Linked DNA regions of Homo sapiens: regions 2, 3 and 4 are each linked to region 1. The links are contacts of gene promoters, found by promoter capture Hi-C in human tissues and cell types (Jung and others, 2019). All regions are on one chromosome and are shown on one strand. The core of a region is centred on a gene start or on the middle of the fragment in contact, and the rest is flanking DNA. Distances in the headings are between cores, read along the strand shown. Region 1 holds the start of PAX5 (paired box 5). Region 2 overlaps PAX5 (paired box 5). Region 3 overlaps ZCCHC7 (zinc finger CCHC-type containing 7). Region 4 overlaps PAX5 (paired box 5).

Region 1 (3,040 bases), core at 276-2,775:
AGTGAAAGAGGCCCCCCATACCTGATTCATGCCTCAGGGCAGATGGAGGCCTACTGTCCCTGCTATCTCCTCTCAGACATAAACACATCCTGCTACCTACTTCTCAGGCCTGTGGGAGGCACATGGGGACCTAAGCCAGGGAGGCCTGTGCGCATACAGGCCCTAGAGCTGAATGCCCAGACTATGCACATGCATCCACCCACTGTGCTCTCCTCCACTGGTGCGGCACCCACAGGATAAAACCTGAGGACACAGTGTGTGTGTGTCTGTGTGTACACACAAATACACACGCCAGTGTCAGAGGCTTGTCTAGGTGAAAGTGAATGTAGGCTGGGGGTCCCTAGAAATGTCACAACTAACCCTACAGGTGTCCGCTGTCATCTGCAAGGTTGTGCCTGCCACAGGAGACCTGTTTGTACAAATGGTAGCCTGAACAGTGCTCACTGCACACCAAGAGGCTGCATGCCCTGAATTCACACCTTCATTCCTGGTCCTATCTCCCAATAGAATGGACACTGGGCCTTACAATGCACATGCTAAACACCACGGATCTCCATAGGCCCCAGACCCACGTCTAGGAGTTTGCCTAGAGACACAATGTGAACATTGGCGTGTATGCATCGGACAGCCGTTGACATCCAAAAATGGAAAGGTCAGTGTAGCCACTTCTTTCTCACATCCAAAAATCACTTGGGATATAACAGGTGAATGCAGACCCTTTAAATAGTGGATGTACACTCAGATATTTCCGAATTACATAAATAACACTCATAGTAGACACACATTTTGGATACCCAAAAGAATATACACAAGTACTAACTTATAAACACACACGAATACCCCACGAGTATAAAGATACACACACACACACACACACACACACACAGGCAAACAACTTTTGGACACAAACTCATATATTTTTACATCTTTTAAAAATACATATACTGTAATGAACACACTGAGTCCCTTATATAAACACACAGGCCCTAACTTGCAGACCCCCGGAAGGACGCCAGCGTGAACATTCAGAAACAGAGAAAAACACAGACAAACTCACAGATATTTGGACTGATGCAGAAGTGTGTGAACAGATAGGTGAAAAAACATAACAAACACGCCGCAGTTAGACAGTCTCTACGAAAATGCGGCGCGCCCCCTCCTCCTCCAGGGTCACCCTGCGTGGGGACCAAGGCCTGGCCGTGTCCCGGAGTTTGCACATCTGGAGCCCGTATCGCGGTCCTACCTGTCCTGCTGGTCCGAGGAGTCGGATAATTTTTCTCTAAATCCATTTTGATTTTTCAGGACTTGATGGAATGGACAGGGAAAAGTTTCCACTTTTTTGTGCCTTTTTTTTTCTTTTTTTTTTTTTTTTTTTTTTTTTTTTGGTGCCAGGGGCCGCTCACAGGTCGGAATAATTCAAGCCTTCCGCTCCCCCGCCGAGCTGGGGTAGCTGATCACTGAGCTGAAACTAAACGTTTTAGGTGGAAAAAAAGCGTCCGAAGGCACCGTGAAATGATTAAGGAACTAAAGAGCTTCTCGCCATGTGAGATCATGTCCTGTTCTCGCCAACATCACAAGATGTCCCCAGACACGCCGCGCCCCCAGCGCGCCGCCCCACACTGCCGGCCCGGAGCGAGGAAAGGGTAGGCGCTGCGCGGCCGGGCCTGCTCAGCGCGCCAGACGTGGCGGACCCGGCCCGGCCGGAGTAGAGCGGGAAGCCGGGAGAGCAGCAGTGCTGCTGCCGCGCCGCCCCAGACTTTTATAGGGGTTGGGGGGAGGGAAGGAAGGCTTCAGCCTGCGCCGGGCGCTAGCCAGCGCACCTACGGGAAGGGGCAGACCGAAGCGGAGCCCGGGAGCCCGGGTCTTCCAGCCGCACCTTCTATTAAGACATGCGCTTGGGGGTCGCGGCCCTCTGCGCTGTGCGCGGGGCCTGTGACATCTCCATGTGCAAACCCCGCTGCTTAGACGAGCGCAGGCCGGGTTTTTGTTTTTGAAGAAATTAACTGCTCGGCCAAGCAGGTGCTTTTGAAAGGGGTTGCAAAGGCTGGCAGTGTTGCCAGGCACCGAGGCGACGTTCCGGTTTACTCCGATTCACCCCTAGGGCGGCGCCCGACCCCAGGGTTCCCAGCCATCCAACCCCCACCCCAATTTGTTGGGGTCCTGACTATTGCTGGGCCCCTGACCCTAGGGCAGCGCCAGATCCCTAAAGCCCCCAGGTCCCATCCAGTCTTCTAGTCCCAGAACCCCTCCCCACATCAAGTTCCATTCTGGCCCAGAGCATGGAGGTTAAGCTGTGAAATACTGGAGATGAAATCCGGGCTTCCGCTTTGGAGCACCCGGGCAGAGCAGAACATCTCAGTAGTTTCTGGAGATTGGCGGGAGTTCCAGACACCTTACCCCGGCCCATAAGTGGAATCGCATTGCCCTCGAGCCCTGAGACGTTGTGGAGTCCCAGAGCCCCAGGACTTGATTCCAGAGAGGAAATCAGATCCACAGAGACCGAGCAGAGGTGTGGCATGTCCAGCCCTCTCTCTTCGGGCCAGACTCAAGCCTCCCCTCCCTGTTCCCCTCCCCAGCCTTGAGTTAGTTCAGCTGCTGGGCCTAGCCACTGAAAGCCTGTGGGGCCCTGCAGCGGGGTGGTCGCAGGGGAAAGGTTCTCCAGGGCGGGGGAGCGCTCCGTAGGAGGACTCCTGGCCCGCCGGACAATGGCAGTTTTGGAGAGTGAATCGTCCTCAGCAAGAGTGTTGTTTGTTTTTTGGAGGGGGTGGTCACGAGGCTGGGTCGCAACCTAGGGGGAAGAGCCTAGAGCTCGAGGAAAGGGGGGCCCCCGGCGGCAACTGGACATCACATATCCACTGAGCAGATTTCGCCACAATCGGAAATGTGGCTGTGGATTCCCGGGCGGCCCCCCCACCAAGTGGTCTGCGCAGTTCCCCAGCGCCGCCTCCTCCCTGCAGCCTGCGGGCCCGTGTCCCTACCCCGAGATTTGATTTTTGGCCATCTCCGAGTGCTCGACTCTTTCCCTCCGCAGCCCAGCCCC
Region 2 (3,040 bases), core at 294-2,793, 170 kb before region 1:
GGCAGGACTTGAACTTGATCCTTGTGGATGTGCAGGTGGGAAAAGGTTGTCCAGAGTCCTCATGGGGCCACTGTCAGAACCCACCAGCTGTGAGGGTCCCCGTGCCCCAGCCGGACCCTGAGTCAGGGGACCCCAACTCCACCCTCACCTGCCCCCATCGGCCCAGGCCAGCTAAGGCTGGTGGGCCTGAGCGTGGGCCAGCCTCCCCCCTCAGCCCACCGGCCTGCCTGCCTCCTCCGGCCTGGCCAGCATGGTGGCAGGCCCTGCCTGCTCCCCTGGGAGCCTGCCGCCAGGGCTGATGGCGCTGACGGAGGGAGGGAGGCCGCCAAGCTGTCAGTCTAGAGGTGCCCCTCGGAGCCCCTCCTGGCTGGAGTGAGGAGGGTGGGCCGGCGCCGGAGCCGGGCTGTCAGGGCCTTCACAGAGACGAGGCCAGAGAGGCGCTGCCTGACAGCTCGCCCACCGAATTAGGACCATTTGCATGCTAATTTCCAGCACTCTAACGGGCTGGCAGGCGGGCTGGGGTGTGGAGAGTGTGCAGAGAGAGGCACCGCGGCCTTCCCGCCCGCGAAGGAACAATGCTTGACTGATCTAGCTGCGTTAACGAGCAAATTATGGTAATTTTGTTATTACAAATGCATAGAAATTTCCAAAGCAGGCAGCCATTCAGGGCAGCTCCCTGCTCCTCCCCACTCCTAAATACAGAGCCCCCTATTTGGAAACACAGGCCAGGCACCCACTTCAGAGACCAAGATTTCCAGGTGCTTCCCTCAGTTCTCCCAGGGAGGCCCAGGGTGAGCCCGGCCAGAGCATCCATCGAGTCAGCAACCCTCAGCTTCTGAGCTCCCCACACCTTGCCCTCTTGTCCCCCAGTAGTCTCTGCCTAGCCCCTGGGCCTAGCAATCCTGCAGAACCTCCACATGCAAGCTGGTTTCTTTCCATCTGAGCAGGTAGCATGGGCGATTCTCCTAGGTCTTGAGAAATTCATTCAGTCATTTCTGTGCCCATTCTTTGAACTAGGCCCAGCACCCAGGAGGGACTCAGGGATTGTCTGATGAATGAATAAGTGAGTCAAGGAAGAAGGGAGGAAGGGAAGAGAGGAGGGAAGGCAGCGGGAGAGGCTGGGGAGAGAGGGAGAGAAGGAAGAAATGGAGGAAGACCAGAACATATTCCGCAAATGAAGATAATCAGGAGACCCCACACGGCCAGCTCACTGGTGGTATAATTAATCCAAGACTTCACTAGCGGAGTTTATTTGCCAACTAGTAACCCCTCCCAGTATTTATAATTGTCCACTGTCAAAATCACAATTTGCCCCAGTTTTTCTGGTAGTCTTCTTTTGATTAAAAGTATGTTTTTGGAAGCCTGCTCTGGTATGCATCCAGACAGGAGCTGTTTCCAAAAAAGTGAGCTCCCACCTCCTAGCAGTGAAGCGTGGGTCGCTCCAGAGCAGGGCTGGGCACAAAGGACGGCTCAGTGGTGCCACGCTGTGAAAAGCAAGTCTGCCCATCCTCGGGCAGGTGGGGTGGATCTGCATCCACTCCTGCCCCACCGGGAACCACTGGCAGTCCTCCTGTTTTATGACAGGGATTTCAGGTTGGGGCTGATGTTATTGAAAGGTCAGGAAGGTGCCTCAAATCCATTTTGGAAGTCAGTGGGGAATAAATCATCAATTATGGAGGAAACCAGCGGCTAGGAAGGTCTGCTCCTGGTGGCTGAAGAAGCGCGGGCGGGCCGGGCCTCACCAGGGAGCGTTCGAGGCAGAGGCCTAAATAGAAGCCAAGACTTCAGAACCTCAGTTGGGGTCGTGGTCAGATTTTTCTATCTGTCTGACTTTCTAACTGGGTCACAGCTTCCAGAGGGAAACTGAACCCAGGAACAGAAAACAATCATTTCTTTGTGTCTGGCTACCTGACTCTGGGTAGGGGAGCTGTGCCCCGGCGTACCTGCAGGTCTCAGACCAACCTCGGCCAGACCTGGGGAGCCCACCGTTGCCTGGATCCACTGAGGCACAGAAGCCTGAGACTTAAGAGAAGATGTTTTTGTAGCTGGCCAGGTCCCAGGGCCTGGGAGAGGATCTGCATTCAGGAAGAGCACAACAAAAGTTGGGGTGAAGGTGGGGGTCTCGATTTGTGTTGCTGTAGAAGCCAGGGCATCCAGGAACCGTCCTTTTTATACCAGTTCTGCACAAGGACAGGAGACAAAATAGCTTCTTTTTTATTGCTTCGGTGAGGAACTGAGGGGGGTGGGGACAATAGGGCAGAAAGAGGGCCACCTGGCTCCCCCTCTGACTTGCCATATGACTTTGAACAAGTCCTTTCCTCATCCTCATCTGCACAGCCCTGGGTTGATTTCTAAGGTTGAGTCCAGCCCTGTCCATCAGTGATGGACGGAAAAGCAGCTACAGAACACACAACGGCCTCTCCGTTGAACACACAACACGCTCCACACAGGCACAGCCCAATCTACACAGGGCTAACAGCCTTCAAAGCTTCTCCTGCAGAGCAGATTTCTCCAAAGCCAAAGGCAAGGCCCTCGGCTAGGGCCTCTGTTGAATCAATGTCTTTGCCGCTGCCCCCAGTGGCCAGCTCTACAGCCTACAAAATGTCCTGGATGGGGTGGTGGGGGGGGGGCCTTGGTTGGTCTCCTGCTTCCCAAGGCTAGATTCCAATTTCTTTGCATTTGTTTTTCCAAATGTGTCTGGCTCGTTCCTGGGGAGTTCTTCTCTACCCAGGAACCCCACACCCGCAGTGCCCATGGAAAAGCTATTCATTCACAAAGGTCCAGTGCAAAGTTGTAGGGGCTATGGGAAACTGCTTCAACCCAAGACTCTTCGGTATACACCTGGTGTCCCCGCTTAGACCTGCTCGTGCCACACCCTTCTTTTGCATCACACAATGAAAGCAATTTCTGGGCTGTAACACAGTGTTTCTAAGAGTCACACTCCAAATTGGCAAAATCCTTCCCTTGTCATCTAGACTGAACCACTTGCTAGCAAACCATTTAAGCCTCAGTTTTCACCTCTGTAAAAGGGGCTACCGTG
Region 3 (3,040 bases), core at 207-2,706, 140 kb after region 1:
CTCACATACTAGTATTTAAGATTAAATAAATTAAAATAATTTCTTAGTTTTGTTTTGTTTAAATACTGTTGTGGTAAAGGCTGTTTTTTGTCTTTTATCAAAAATGTAAGAGGTTGAACAACAAGAAATTAGTGTAATGGTTGAATATGGCAATTTCATATGCTTCTGACAAATATTTCTTAAGCCTCATTTGTTTTTGTTTGTTTGTTTGTTTGTTTGTTTTGTTTTGTTTTTGAGATGGAGTCTTGCTGTCACCCAGGCTGGAGTCCAGTGGCTCGATCTTGGCTCACTGCAAGTGCCGCCTCCTGGGTTCATGCCATTCTCCTGCCTCAGCCTCAAGGAGTAGCTGGGACTACAGGCGCCTGCCACCATGCCTGGCTAATTTTTGTATTTTTAGTAGAGACGGGGTTTCACCGTGTTAGCCAGGATGGTCTCGATCTCCTGACCTCGTGATCCGCCTGCCTCGGCCTCCCAAAGTGCTGGGATTACAGGCGTGAGCCACCGCGCCCAGTCTAGCCTCATTTGTTAAATACGCTTTCATTAAGGTAGCCTAGGAACTCAGCCACCCTATAGATTGTTGCTTCAGTACAGAAATGAGTCCCACATTTAAAAGAACATTTTATCACTGTTTGTGGTGTTTTAATATCCAGACTTTTGTGGTCTTCATGTTGGAATCAATAATATATGTCAATATATTTTGGTATATATTAATATGTAATTATATTTTAATATATGGAAGCATACATCATATATTAAAATATATGCATAACTGAATTAAATATATACATTTAATGTATATATTTTAAAAATTAGTAATGCTTCTAAATGTCAGTGAGTGCCCTCAGCTTCTGACAATGCTTAATCTACCGGTGTCTAAACAGCATTGCAGTGTTCCTGCTGCTTAAATCATATAGGATTCATTTTAGCTAAGGCTAAATTAGGGGAATAACTGAAGATATATCGGAAATGGAAACCCCAAAGAGTAATAGCTATGAATTCTGTAAATGGGAAGACAGACCAGCCTTTACTGTAGCAGTCAATATATAGAGATAAGGTCTTACACTGGTGTTTTTGTTTGTTTGTTTGTTTTTTTAAACTACTGATGCCTCAGTCCTACCCCTGGAAATATGAGTAAAATGGGGCCAGGACAACAGAAAGTTGAGAGCTTCTTTTTGTACTGGCTTTAAAAGCAAGGATCTAGGCCGGGTGTGGTGGCTTACGCCTGTAATCCCAGCACTTTGGGAGGCCAGGGTGGGCAGATCACGAGGTCAGGAGTTTGAGACGAGCCTGGCCAACGCAGTGAAACCCCGTCTCTACTGAAAATACTTAGCTGGGTGTGGTGGCACACACCTGTAGTCCCAGCTACTTGAGAGGCTGAGACAGGAGAATTGCTTGAACCTGGGAGGTGGAGTTTGCAGTGAGCTGAGACCACGCCAGTGCATTCCAGCCTGGGTGACAGAGTGAGACTCAGTCTCAATAAATAAATAAATAAATAAAATTAAAAAATAAAAGCATGGAGCTAGGTCAGAAATAGCTACAGACTGAGAGTAATCACTGTAAGTAGTGACACAAAGACTAATCTTTGTGCAGTGTGGAAAGTACAGCTGGGTTGTTTCTTTGATTCCTCCTGCCCCATTGAGCCATACCTACAGAGAGCAGCTGTGAAAAACTATCACTTTCAACAATGAAGAATAGTAATATGTCATAATGGAGATTATGAAGTTCAGAAAGGGGTAAATGCAGTTTTGGGGAGGGCTGAGACTAAGAGAGAACACAATAAGACAGGCAATTAAGACTGACATGAAAGATCAGTCACATTGATAGGATATACTCTTGATATGATATAATGAGAATGGCAGTTTACCGCTGTGGTTTTCTTTTCCCAAAACCCATAACCACAGCCTAACCATGAGAAAGACATCAAACAAATCCCAATTTGGGACATTCTGTAGAATACCTAACCCAGTATTCCTTAAAAACAATGAAAGTCAGAGATACTGTCACAGCCAAGAGGAGCCTAGGGAGACATGACAACTAAGTGTAATGTGGTATCCTGGATAGAATTCTAGAACAGAAAAAAATTAAAAACTAAAGAAATCATGTATGAGCTTCAGTTAATAAGGTATCAATATTGTTTCATTAATTTTGTCAAATTTACCATACTAATGTAAGATGTCACTATTATAGGGGAAACTGGCTGTGGTGCACATGAGAACTCGTTGTACTATCTTCACAATTTTTCTGTAAACCTAAAACTGTTCTAACCCTAAACCTAGCCAGTAATGGTGCCTTGGTAATTAAAACACCATGCTGATGAGTATATGATTTCTAGCTAGCTTTATGAACCCCATGATAGAATTTGGATATGTCAGTCCAAATTTATCACTCTTAGTGGAAAATCAGGGTAGGTTCACTTCATTGTTAAGAATACAACAGTAACATTATTCGCCTTTGTAACTTAAAACACATCCCAGCGTCACATACCATTTGTACCCCCACCTCCCCTCTCAAACCCATTGCTTCCCCACTGGCCGCCCCCTACCCCCCACCAAAAAAAAAAAAAAAGGAAAAGGAAAGAAAAAAGGAGAAGGTAAAAAGGAAGGAAAGAAGGTAAAAGAGAAAGTAGAAAGAGAGGAAAGGAAGGAAGAATGGAAAGAAGAAAACTCACAATGGTTGGCAAATAAACCTCTATATTTCAAAGGTTATTGTGAGGATAAAACTCTTATAGTTATGATATAAAAGATTTAACGCGGTGTTGGTACATGTTGTTGGAATAATTCACAGTCAACATAATGAGCAGTGATACAAAGTTCAGGTGTTGTAGCAGACGTATTTTGAGTTTACAGATATTAAACAGTGAAAGTAAATTTTGGGTTTCTGTTAAGAAACACGTAAAATAGCCATTAGAGTTTTGTGGATATGTCAGGTAAATTTTGAAGGCATTTTAGAAATGTCAACTTGCTAACTCTAGGTGACTAAAATAGGTAAGCTTTTTATAAATAAGGTAGATTGAGAAATTTTTGGATATGAAATTAATGAT
Region 4 (3,040 bases), core at 225-2,724, 150 kb before region 1:
CATTTTTTTTTAACCAAGGAAGAAATTATTTGTATCATTTGCAATGGCACTGAATGTTATTGATGGCCTATAATAAGTTTGCAAATAACTAACTAAAATGAATCAATTTGCATTCCTAACATAATTCCTCCTATTAATGGCACGTAAGTACATCTTTTCTAACTCATGCGTGGCCTTCTCTTACCAGGGAGAATAACCAAGACTTGGCTTTGCTTACTATCAGCAAGGAGTCCAGGCAGAACAGTGAAACTCAACACAAAGGCCACTCCTCCAGAAGAGACACATTTGGTTTGAAATAACTCACTCTTTGCAATCCTGAGAGGAAGGGGAAGAACAGGGATCTGCCCCTGTTGTATACATGAGGAAACTGAGGCTCAGGGATGAGTTTTGACTGGCCCAAAGTCACAGAGTAAGCGGTAGAACAGGGACTTCAATTCAGATCTCATGATTTCTACTTAAATGCTATTATTGTAGGATTATTAAAAATGTTTCCCCTCGAGGGGACTAGCCCTCCCAGATGCTAAAACATTCTATGAAGTCTTTATAATTAATATTGTGATACCAGCACCTGAAGAAAAAACCAATGGAATAGAATGAAAAATTTAAACAAAGGCTCAAAAGATCCAATCCATATTGGATTATGGACCCAATAATCCAATGCATAGATTATATGGAAATCTAGCATACGATGAAGGTAGGATCTCGAATCACTGGGGCAAATATGGACTTTTTATAAATGGTGTTAGGACAACTGGAAAGCCATCTGGGAAAAAAGATAAAATAGATCAACTCTTCCCACCATATATAAGAATAAACTACAAATAGAACTGAGAAATAAATGTAAAAAAATAAAACTCTACAAGTACTAGAAGAAAATACAGGTGAATTCCTCTCTAATCCAGGTGCAGAAAGACTTTCTAACTATGATTTGAAACCAGATGCACACACACTACAAAAATTAACTCAAAAATGAATCAAAGACCTAAATGTAGGAGTTAAAAGTACAAAATTCTTAGAAGGAAATATGGGCATAAATCTCCATGACCCTGGATTCGGCAATAGTTTATTGGATATGACACAAACAAAAAAATAGATACACTGGACTTCATCAAAATTAAAAGCTTTTGTGCTTCAAAGGATACTACCAAGAAAGTGAAAAAATGACCCATAGAATGGGAGAAAATATTTGCAAATCATATGTCTGATAAAGGACTTGTATCTAGAATATATAAAGAACTCTTGCAGCTCAATAATAGACAAATAATCCAATTTTAAAATGAGCAAAGCAACTGAATAGGCATTTGTCTAAAGAAGAATAAATGAAATGGCTAACAAGCACATGAAAAGATGTTCAACATCATTAGCTCTCAGGGAAATGCAAATCCAAACCACAATAAAACACCACTTCATACCCACTGGGAAGGTCACAGTCAAAAAGACATATTGTCACAATCATTGGCAAAGATGGGGAAAATCGGAACCCTCAAACACTGCTGGTAGGAATGTAAAATGGTACAGCTGCTTTGGAAAAGTCTGGCAGTTCTTAGACATCGAGTTACCACGTGACCCAGCAATTCCCACTCCTAGGTGTACACCCCAGAGAAATAAGAACGTATGTCCACATAAAAACTTGTACACAAATGTTGGTGGCAGCATTATTCATGATAGCCAAAAAGTGGAAACAGCTCAGATATCCATCAATTGATGAATGCATAACGAAAATGTAGTATGTCCATACAATGGAATATTTGGCAATAAAACAGAGTGAAATACCAATACATACTACAGTAGCAACATTCATAATGAACTTGAAATGACTATGCTACGTGAAAGAAGCCAGTCACAAAAGACTATGTATTGTGTGAATATATTCATACAAATGTCCAAGATAGGCAAATCTACCGACAAAAGGTAGATTCGTGATTGCCTAGGGCTGGGGCTGGGAAATGCTCAACAGGCAAAGACATGAAGGGAAGATATAAAGTCTCAGGCTGCATCTGGGGAGAGGGCAGGCTGGGCAGAGGCACGCTATGGCTGACGCTGGTGGAAGACCTGGCATCCAGAGGGCAGACCTGACCCCAGGGAGGAGACCTCCAGGCAGCTCTGCAGGCGGCAGGCTTGAGGGGGCATGAAGCCACCCACATCTGCTCTCCCTTTCACACAGGCTCCCCCGTTGCCTCCAGAGCCAAATCTAGGCCCCTGAGCCTTGCAGGGAGGGGTGGAGTTTGGAGTCACACAGGCCTGGCTTCAAATCTTAGCTCCACCACTTACTCGCTGTGTGACCTCTGGCAGGTAATACAACGATCTGAGCATGGGGCTTTCTTTGATAATTGGAAAAAGAGGGTATTTATTGGGAGTGTAACAATGGTACTCTCTGTAACAGGATTAAAACATGTCTGCAAATTCTTTGTTACTCTTCTCATGGAGAAGTGAGGTCTATGATCCTTTACCCTGAACCTGGGCCCCCTTGGTGACTGGTCAACCCACAGAGCTCCAGCCTCCTTGGAGTTCCCACAAGCCAGGCCCTGGCCAGGCACTTCCATGTCTTAACCTCATTCAATACAAGAACCCCATAAGGTTGCGGTTATAATCCCCATTTTACAAATGAGGAAATGAAGGCTCCCAAGCAGTTGATGTACCCAAGGTTGCACGGCTGATAATAATAACAATAACAGCTAATATTTTTGTAGAATTTACTGTATGCCAGACAAGGCTCTACACTAAGCAGTGTTCTAAACAATATTCACTCTGCTTTGTAAATATAGATTCATTTCATCCTCAAAAACTCTGTAAGGTGAACCCTATTGTTATCCCCATTTTACAGATGTGGAAACTAAAACACAGCGAGATTAGGCACCTGCCCAAGTTCCCACAGCTAGTCACAAATGGACCCTTATCCAAACGGAGGCGTTCTGGCACCAGATGCCTTCACAATCCCCCAGCATTGGGCACCCATCCTTCTCCTGCTTCTAGACTGGAAGTCCCCAGAGATCAAGAACTGCTCTCATTCCTGTTTCCCTTGCACTGGCCTGGCACACAG

Evidence for each region. Contacts are between HindIII fragments. The study calls those that stand out against the background at their distance.
Region 2: a fragment that was not itself captured here is called in contact with the fragment with the promoter of PAX5 in region 1 in 3 of the 25 tissues and cell types used here (IMR-90 fibroblasts, lymphoblastoid cells and spleen).
Region 3: a contact is called between a fragment that was not itself captured here and the fragment with the promoter of PAX5 in region 1, in 1 of the 25 tissues and cell types used here (lymphoblastoid cells).
Region 4: a fragment that was not itself captured here is called in contact with the fragment with the promoter of PAX5 in region 1 in 1 of the 25 tissues and cell types used here (liver).

The regions. Positions count from the first base shown.
Region 1 is chr9:37,032,743-37,035,782 of GRCh38, forward strand. It overlaps PAX5 (paired box 5), which reads right to left and starts at 1,526. Exons shown (of 10, transcript NM_016734.3): 1 at 1,244-1,526. The coding sequence starts at 1,289. RefSeq lists silencers at 1,292-1,412, 1,679-1,858, 2,939-3,040, a promoter at 1,672-2,110 and an enhancer at 2,189-2,238. The HindIII fragment of the contact is 13,727 bases long and covers 1-3,040 here.
Region 2 is chr9:36,864,441-36,867,480 of GRCh38, forward strand. The region is part of intron 8 of PAX5 (paired box 5); the gene reads right to left. Among named protein-coding and RNA genes, the nearest start is that of MIR4540, 1.7 kb to the left of the region's middle. RefSeq lists an enhancer at 347-456. The HindIII fragment of the contact is 4,420 bases long and covers 1-3,040 here.
Region 3 is chr9:37,175,860-37,178,899 of GRCh38, forward strand. All of the region lies in intron 2 of ZCCHC7 (zinc finger CCHC-type containing 7), which reads left to right. All of the region lies in intron 1 of LOC105376033 (a long non-coding RNA gene), which reads left to right. Among named protein-coding and RNA genes, the nearest start is that of ZCCHC7, 57 kb to the left of the region's middle. The HindIII fragment of the contact is 9,777 bases long and covers 1-3,040 here.
Region 4 is chr9:36,886,677-36,889,716 of GRCh38, forward strand. All of the region lies in intron 7 of PAX5 (paired box 5), which reads right to left. Among named protein-coding and RNA genes, the nearest start is that of MIR4476, 5.3 kb to the right of the region's middle. The HindIII fragment of the contact is 3,977 bases long and covers 1-3,040 here.